Regions from separate parts of the Homo sapiens genome. Here region 2 is linked to region 1. The links are contacts of gene promoters, found by promoter capture Hi-C in blood cells and fetal thymus (Javierre and others, 2016). All regions are on one chromosome and are shown on one strand. Each heading gives the region's core, a stretch centred on a gene start or on the middle of the fragment in contact. The rest is flanking DNA. Distances are from core to core; before and after follow the strand shown. Region 1 holds the start of CD2AP (CD2 associated protein). Region 2 overlaps SAYSD1 (SAYSVFN motif domain containing 1).

Region 1 (3,582 bases), core at 303-2,802:
TAGTCTGTATTCGTCCTGCTTCTAAATCATTTGTTAATTACATGAATTATTCATTTCGGTGATCGTTTGTTGATATGAAGCAGTACCAACTCTCAACTGCAAAAAGTGATAGGGTCCTCCTGATTTGCTCTACAAAAATCAAACTTGGGTTTACTCTTACAGAACACGTTCTGCCTTATAGAGACACAGGGTGTTTTGTTTTTTGTAAGCTATTCTTAAGTTGCTTTTAATTTTTAAAGGATTGAGGGAGTTAGTTTAATGCCTAGCCCACACCGAACTTTGTTATCAAAAGAAATTGTTACACCACTTAACAAAACTCCTTTTCAACCCGGACTGCCACACATTCTGCCTTCTCTAACTTCAAACAAAACTATAAAGCACATAGTAAATAACATATAAGGCCTTGTATTTTTCTCTCCTCCGGCAAGGAAGTCTAACTCCAAACAGGAAACTGCTCCTCAAAGGATCCAACACTGAAGTCCAAACCCAGTCCTCGGGAGCACACTGAATGCTTAGGTGCCAACACACTTGCCTAGGTAGAACCCGAGTAAAACAAATACTCAAGCTTTCCTGTCCTTGAGGCACCCCTTGCGAGTTTCAGCAGGAAAAAAAAAAAGTTTTTGAACAAATTTATCTCTCTCCTTAAACGTATTCAAAGCCTCGCAGAAAATAAAGAAGTTGAAAGTGCTACTTTATCAAGTTTTTCGATCGCCCTCCCCCATCCCACGAGGAGGGGGAGGGAAGCAAGGGGATGAGGAAGGGAAGGAAGGTCAGGTCTGATTTTAGCTGGGCAAGGGGTTAGCAGAGGTGGCCAGGCGCCCCCGCCCCCCATCCCGCACCTTTCTGGTGAACAGGAAAAGAGGCGGAGAAGGGAGAGCGAGGGAAAGCACCCGCGAGCTCTCCCACCAGTTTCTCCGTGAGAAGAGCAAGGTGGAAGGCAGGGCAAGAAGGGGCGGTGGGGAGAATGGAGAGGGTGGGGTGCTGCCGCTCAGGGGCTGACCGCAGTCGCCTCCCCAGAAGGCCGAGAAAGGGCACAGCCTCCCCGGGTCTGGAAGGTCCGGACGGGCGGCGGGAAGCGCCCGAGTCTCTTACCCATGCTGGGGGCTCCCGCGGGGAGAAGCCGACGTCCGCTCCTCCTCCTCCTCCTCCAGTGGTGGCTCGCGCGGCCGCTCCCGCGGCTGGAGGCGGGACCCGCGCTCCGCGCTAGCCCCTCCTGAGCTCAGGCGGGGCGAAGAGTCGCCTCCATCCGCCCGCGGCGCTCTCCTACCAGTCTCTTCAGCGCGGCCCTCGAGGCAGAGGCAAAGGCGGCGACAGCTCCTCACCCCTGGCCTCCCCAGGAGCCACGGCGGCGGGAGGGCCCTACCCCGCCCGCCCGACCGCGGTTTTCCCACCCTGGCCGCTCCCGCAGTGGGGAGGGACCCACCGGTTTGCCCAGACCCTCGGCTCCAACCCCGAGCGCCCGCCTAGCCTCGGAGCCCGCCCCTCGCCTCTTCCTTAGCACTCGCAGTTAGAAAAGGCGACACCGTAGACTAAGGTGGGGACCCAGACAGAGGCCGAGAAGGTGCGGGGAGCTGGGACCGGGAGGAGGCAAATCTCGCGAGAACGCCCTCGTTCTCCCCGCCCCACCCCGCCCCGTCGCGTTCGGGCTCTCTCCCGGTCCCCACGGCTGCTGCCAGGTGCGGTGACGTCACGGCCGGGGGTCGCGCGCCGACCGCGTCCAGGTGCAGCGAGCGGATGAGGAAGCGGTGCAGAGGAGCTTGGGCTCGCTCTCCCCCCGGAGGCTCGGAACAGCTTGGGCGGGCGTTTGGTCTGGTTTGTCGCCTCAGATGGATCAAAAGGTTTCTGCTGATAGGCAAAGTTGCCCCACTTTCCGCGGCGGCGACGCGGAGTTACTTTCTGCAGCGAAGCAGCCTCGAGGACCTTAAAGGGAAAAGGCGGACAGAAGGAGGGCGAGCGCACTTGATTTCGACCTTTAAGGGAGGCCCAGATGCTGCCAGGCCCCTCAGTTTACCTTGCGAAGTTACTTACGGATCAGCAGCATTTGGTCTTCGTCGGGTGAGGGAGAAACCTAGGCATCAAATAAATTCTGTTTCACAGATTCCTTTAGTCTCTTGTCAGCTGAATGCAACTTTATAATTTGCTTTTTTTCTTTTTAAAGTATAATTTGAGTTGTTACTTGATCGAGAGAAAAATAGGCATCATGATTTGAAATACTGCCAGGCATTTTTTCTAGCGTCAATGTGAAGGAGGGCATAGGATTACTATAGTCAGTCAAACATGAGCTTGGTAGTTACGAAGAAGTATAATTATTTCAGCAAGCTTTTTTTCCCCCTTCTGTTTAAGTAGACCCAATTCCAGGGCAGATGTGTGTGTGAGCGTTTGTTGAACGCCAACTATTGTGCCTAGTGCTTTTTCAAGAAATTTTGTAATTCTCAGTCATCCAGCACTGAAACTGACTTGCCCTTTGGATCCAGGCAGACATGGGTCCTTGAAACTCAGCACAGCCATTTACTTTTTGTGGGACCTTGGATAAATTAACCTGTCTGAACTTCAATTTCTTGAGTATGTTCAAACAAATCTTGCAATGCAGAGCACAGTGGCCCATAGTAGTAACCTTGGACGTATCCATTACCACTATTTCCTATAGGCCTGCTTTTGCCATCTTTTAATTCTTCTAATGCTTCTCAAAAGGTTACATGTGGTAATTTTATAACAAGAATGATCAAACTCACAAACAGCAGCCAAAAAGGATAAAAGAAAAAAGTTGAATATACTCACCTAAACAAGATTACATTGACATCATGGAACATGTGCCTTTTTTAGGTAACAAATATGTGTTCAGCATTATGTTCGTTGTCCCCTACCAAGCAAAAAAATAAAAAGCTAAAGTACAGCGCTAATCCTCAGAGATTTTGCATTCTTCTAGGGGGGTGAGATACGAACACAAAGTTAATTAACAGTATGAGGTAGTGAGGGTCAAATGCTTGAGAATTTAAAGGAAAATAAATTACTGTGGGCAAAGCAAGCTGTAAAGAGAAGGTATGAGTTGAACGAAAGCTTGGGGAAGGCAATAATTCAGTCTGGAGGAGTCCTAGAACTGAGGAATGGAAGTGGATATGCAAACAGAGTATTTCTGAGCCTTTAAGAAATGTGTGTGGCTCAAGCAGCCCATAAGGAAGGCCATTTACGATTTGGAAGAATGAGGCTGGTGATGGGCTAAGAAGGATTCATGAAAGGAGACAAAAATATAAGCTATTGGAAGCACATACATAGGTAGTAAATTCAAGGCCCAGAGCCCTTAAGTTTCTAGAGACTAAATTTCTAGGTCTCTAGAATCCTTAATATTTAAAGAAGAAAGGCCAATGAATAGAATGGAAAAGAAGTTAAGTAAAACAGAAGGGGGAATAAAGACTATCAGATTTGATAATAAGGGCATCTTTGAAAATATAATTTCAGAATATATATAATAGAATATATAATATATAACTACATATTCAGAATATATATATAATAGAAAATTCAGATTAAAGGTTTTATCAATTGAATGATAAGGAAGTGGAGGCCACAGATAAGGTAGATATT
Region 2 (3,582 bases), core at 734-3,233, 8.4 Mb after region 1:
GGCCCTAGCTGCCGGGGGTGTGGCCCTAGCTGCCGGAGGCGGGGCTACTGGCCCCCCATCCTGATCGAGGGCCGGACCGCTCATCTCCGGCCACACGTGTCAGCACTGTTACCAGTTTTGACATTTTCTTTCCAGCCCGCGACCCACGCAGGTCCTGATTCCAGCGAGAGTCGAGGGTCCTGGGAGAAAGCACCTCTGCTCTTAAATTATTCACTCCGAATTGAGTTATCGTGACGCCCTGTGGCATTGGGAAACCTCTCCACAACCAAGTTGAGCCACAGCCCTCTGCTAATGGAGGAGGGTAAAAGGTCTAATTGGATACCGATCACAAGTAGCAGTAATTAAAACTTCATTTGATTCGCACCTGGGGCACATGCAGCTAGTAGCCCAGATAGCCTGTGACTTAGAAATGCGTTTGAATACAGAATTTACCAAAGTGTGGTAGCTGTAACTGCCGGTAGTGGCAGAAGCTTATTCCAGTTCCATAGTGAATGTTCAAGACACAAACAAAAAAAAGTGATTTAGTATGATAACCTTTTCACATTTAATTGTTTTGGTAATCTCTTGTTTTGCAGATGAATTTAATTTGCATCCTTTTGTGTTTTCATTTAGTTTTAACTCAGTAAAATGGTAAGGTGGCTTGCAGTGAGGTTGAAATGTCTATGTGGAAATACAAGACAAAACATATCAAGGGATGAGTGCTTTGTAACAATTTGTGCCCAGTGCTTTGTTCCTCATAAGTGCAATAAGAACTAAAAAATTCCTTTTAAAATGAAAATATACTGGAAGAAAAGTGTACCTTGCTCACCTTAAAATTATTTCCTGTAAGTTCATCTATTATTGCACAACATTTGATTTGAGGGAATTTTTAAAAATTACTGAACCTATTACTCAATTTTGATTTGATATTCTCAGTGATATACAGGATTCCAGCTGACTTGCAGAAAGGTGAAAAGAGCGCAGCAGAGTTCAGACAATCCATTTCCTTGTGTGCAGTTTGTGTTAATTGTCTTTGGATAATTTTATTGTTGACTAGAACTTTCTAAGTACAACACTTGCTTAAGATTTTAGAAACCATTTCCCTTATTCTTTTTCTCTCTGCAGTTAAAAAACAATGTCTAACCCATGCAATGAACTTTTGACTGTATGTCTCATTTCCAAAGGAATGAGATCATTGAGGTGGACCCAGAGAAACTGAATTCAGAGAAAAACTTCCATTATTGAGAACCCAAACGCTGATTGCCAGACAAAAGGATGAGAGGAAATGCTGGACCTCCAGTTTCTTGTTAATTGCTCTGTTTTTCCATAAGGGACTCTGCCTTAAGCTCATTTTCATTGACTTATCATTTCTGGGTTTGCTCTGGTGTGAAAATTCTCATTTAATTTTTTTTCTTCAGATTCTGCCTCTAGTTTAGAAAAGAAAAAGTCTAATTTACAATTCATGTCAGACAATTTTGATGGCACACTGTGGCCTGTCAGAGATTTCTTTAGCATTCTATTTTTTTAAATTATTTTTAATTTTTGTTTTTTTAATTGAAACAGCTTTATTGAAATAAGGTTTACATACTACAGAATTTATCTCTTTTAACATACAGTTCAAAGATTTTTAGTAAATTTATTGAGTCATGCAACCATCACTGCAACTTTAGAACGTCTCTATCACTCCAAGAAGACCCCTCTTGCACATTAGCAGTTACTACCCATTTCCAACCCCAGCCCCGCACAAATGTCAGTCTGCTTTCTATCTATACATTTGTCTTTTCCGGATGTTTCATGTAAATGGAATTATACAGTATGGTAAACACATTTTTTGTCTATTAATTTTTATATTCAACTAGGTTCAACATGTAGCCGTAGCCAAATATTTTAAATTTTCCTTCTGGAAGTTTGAAAATATTTATCTTTTTTGATACTTACTTCTCCTTCTGCTTTCTCTTTTTCATACTGAAACAGTCTTTTAAATGATTGCATTCATTGATTAATTCCTTATTTTTCCCTTCTAGCAGAAGACCTTCCTTTTCACTCTCAAGACAGCATCCTTGGATATTAATTACCTTTTGTTCATTATCCCCTTTCTTATGAGCACCATCTAGTTGTTGAAGCAACAGATTTTCATGTTGTAGTTGAGATATTCTCTCCTCTACGTAGTCCCACTTTCCAAAGGATTTACTTGGCTTAGGTCCTTTTGTACACTTTATAAAACCAAAACCTTTTCTCTGAGAGAATTTCTTGTGTCATGGAGTTTACTTTTTAGGGTATTGAATTCGAGCTTCGGAAAGTTGCTCAGTTAAAAACTCATTATTATCTTTTAGTTCAGAAATATCAGAACTCATTTTCTTTCTTGTAAAGAAACGTCTTGTGCTCTCTGTAAAGCAAGTTCTAGGTCTCTTTTTGTTTTCACACTTTGATCACACTCACTTATAGCAGCAGCCAGTCTAGCATGGAATGACTCAACTTCAGCTTCCAGTCTTTCCTTGTTTTGATTTTCCTTCTCCAGTTTAGACTTGAGCATTGTATTCTCAGTTTTGAGGTCGTTAAGCTGTTGACCATACTGGGATACTGTTTTTGTTAATGTTTTTCCATTCAGTTTTATAGTCTCTTGAAGGTCATCATTCATTTCTTTAACAATTTCAATGTCCTTTTTCCCTTTCGAGGTTCCTATTTTTTATTGTGTATACTTACATACACAATAAAGGCAATATCTCTCTTCAACAAGCAATTTTCATGCATCAGATCTTTTTTTTTCTTAAAGTATTTCTTCAAGCCTTCAATTCTATTTCTAGTGATCCGATAGTCAGTTTAAGCTGTTCTTTTACTTCAACTTCTTTCCTATGTTGCTCCACTTTCCTTTCTAACTCTTCCCTAATTTTTTCATATAACATATTAGCATTTCTTCTCATCTTCTTCTAAGCTGCAAACTGTAGAGTTCCTGTTTCCATTCTACTTTTTGATATTGAACTGTGACTTCGTTTCTTGTGTTTTGGATAGCTCCTTCAGTACACTAAACTCAGTTTTCATATTTCTTATTGTCTAGTGTAAGTTGTTCACAGATAATTTTTTTTAAGGTCCAGTGACTTTTCACATGAAAGAAATGCATTCTGGACTTCCATTAGGATACGAGAATCATTACAATCCATTCCATATTGCTTAATGAGCATCATAAACTTCTTACAATGAGGGTAAGGTTTCTCATGATCCTCTGAAGCTGTTTCAGAGGGCCGAGTTAAGTCATCAGGTTCATCTCTAAATGAGTTTGCTTTTTGACCTTTTTCTTTTCATTTGACATTTTCTTTGCAGGCCTAGCATACTCTTTGTTCTCCTTCCTAGGAAATCGCTGATGGTAAGTTTTTCCACTCTTTCTTTGTTGAATTAATTTATCATCATCGTCAGCAGATGTACTATCATATACGTTTTTTTGATACTTTTTTTTTTTAACTTTCGTGCTTCTTTCTAGCTTCTTCAACCTGTGGCTGTTTATTTTCACTTTCAAGCTTTTCCTGTTCTTCCTCTGATGTCACTTGTACTTCTTGTTCTGCTTTGGATGTTTGTTCGTTCTTCCTTTCTATTGCTTTCTTCACAACA

The links. The method cuts DNA at HindIII sites, captures the fragments that hold promoters and counts their contacts. A CHiCAGO score of 5 or more calls a contact.
Region 2: a contact is called between a fragment that was not itself captured here and the fragment with the promoter of CD2AP in region 1, in 1 of 17 cell types (non-activated CD4 T cells). The highest score is 6.9, in non-activated CD4 T cells.

The regions. Positions count from the first base shown.
Region 1 is chr6:47,475,759-47,479,340 of GRCh38, reverse strand. CD2AP (CD2 associated protein) reads right to left here and starts at 1,552. Exons shown (of 18, transcript NM_012120.3): 1 at 1,093-1,552. The coding sequence starts at 1,096. CD2AP-DT (CD2AP divergent transcript) reads left to right here and starts at 1,269. Exons shown (of 1, transcript NR_187257.1): 1 at 1,269-2,098. RefSeq lists an enhancer at 268-994 and a silencer at 1,281-1,790. The HindIII fragment of the contact is 1,754 bases long and covers 568-2,321 here.
Region 2 is chr6:39,111,243-39,114,824 of GRCh38, reverse strand. The region is part of intron 1 of SAYSD1 (SAYSVFN motif domain containing 1); the gene reads left to right. It also overlaps the pseudogene ANKRD18EP. Among named protein-coding and RNA genes, the nearest start is that of SAYSD1, 2.2 kb to the left of the region's middle. RefSeq lists an enhancer at 1-45. The HindIII fragment of the contact is 3,021 bases long and covers 473-3,493 here.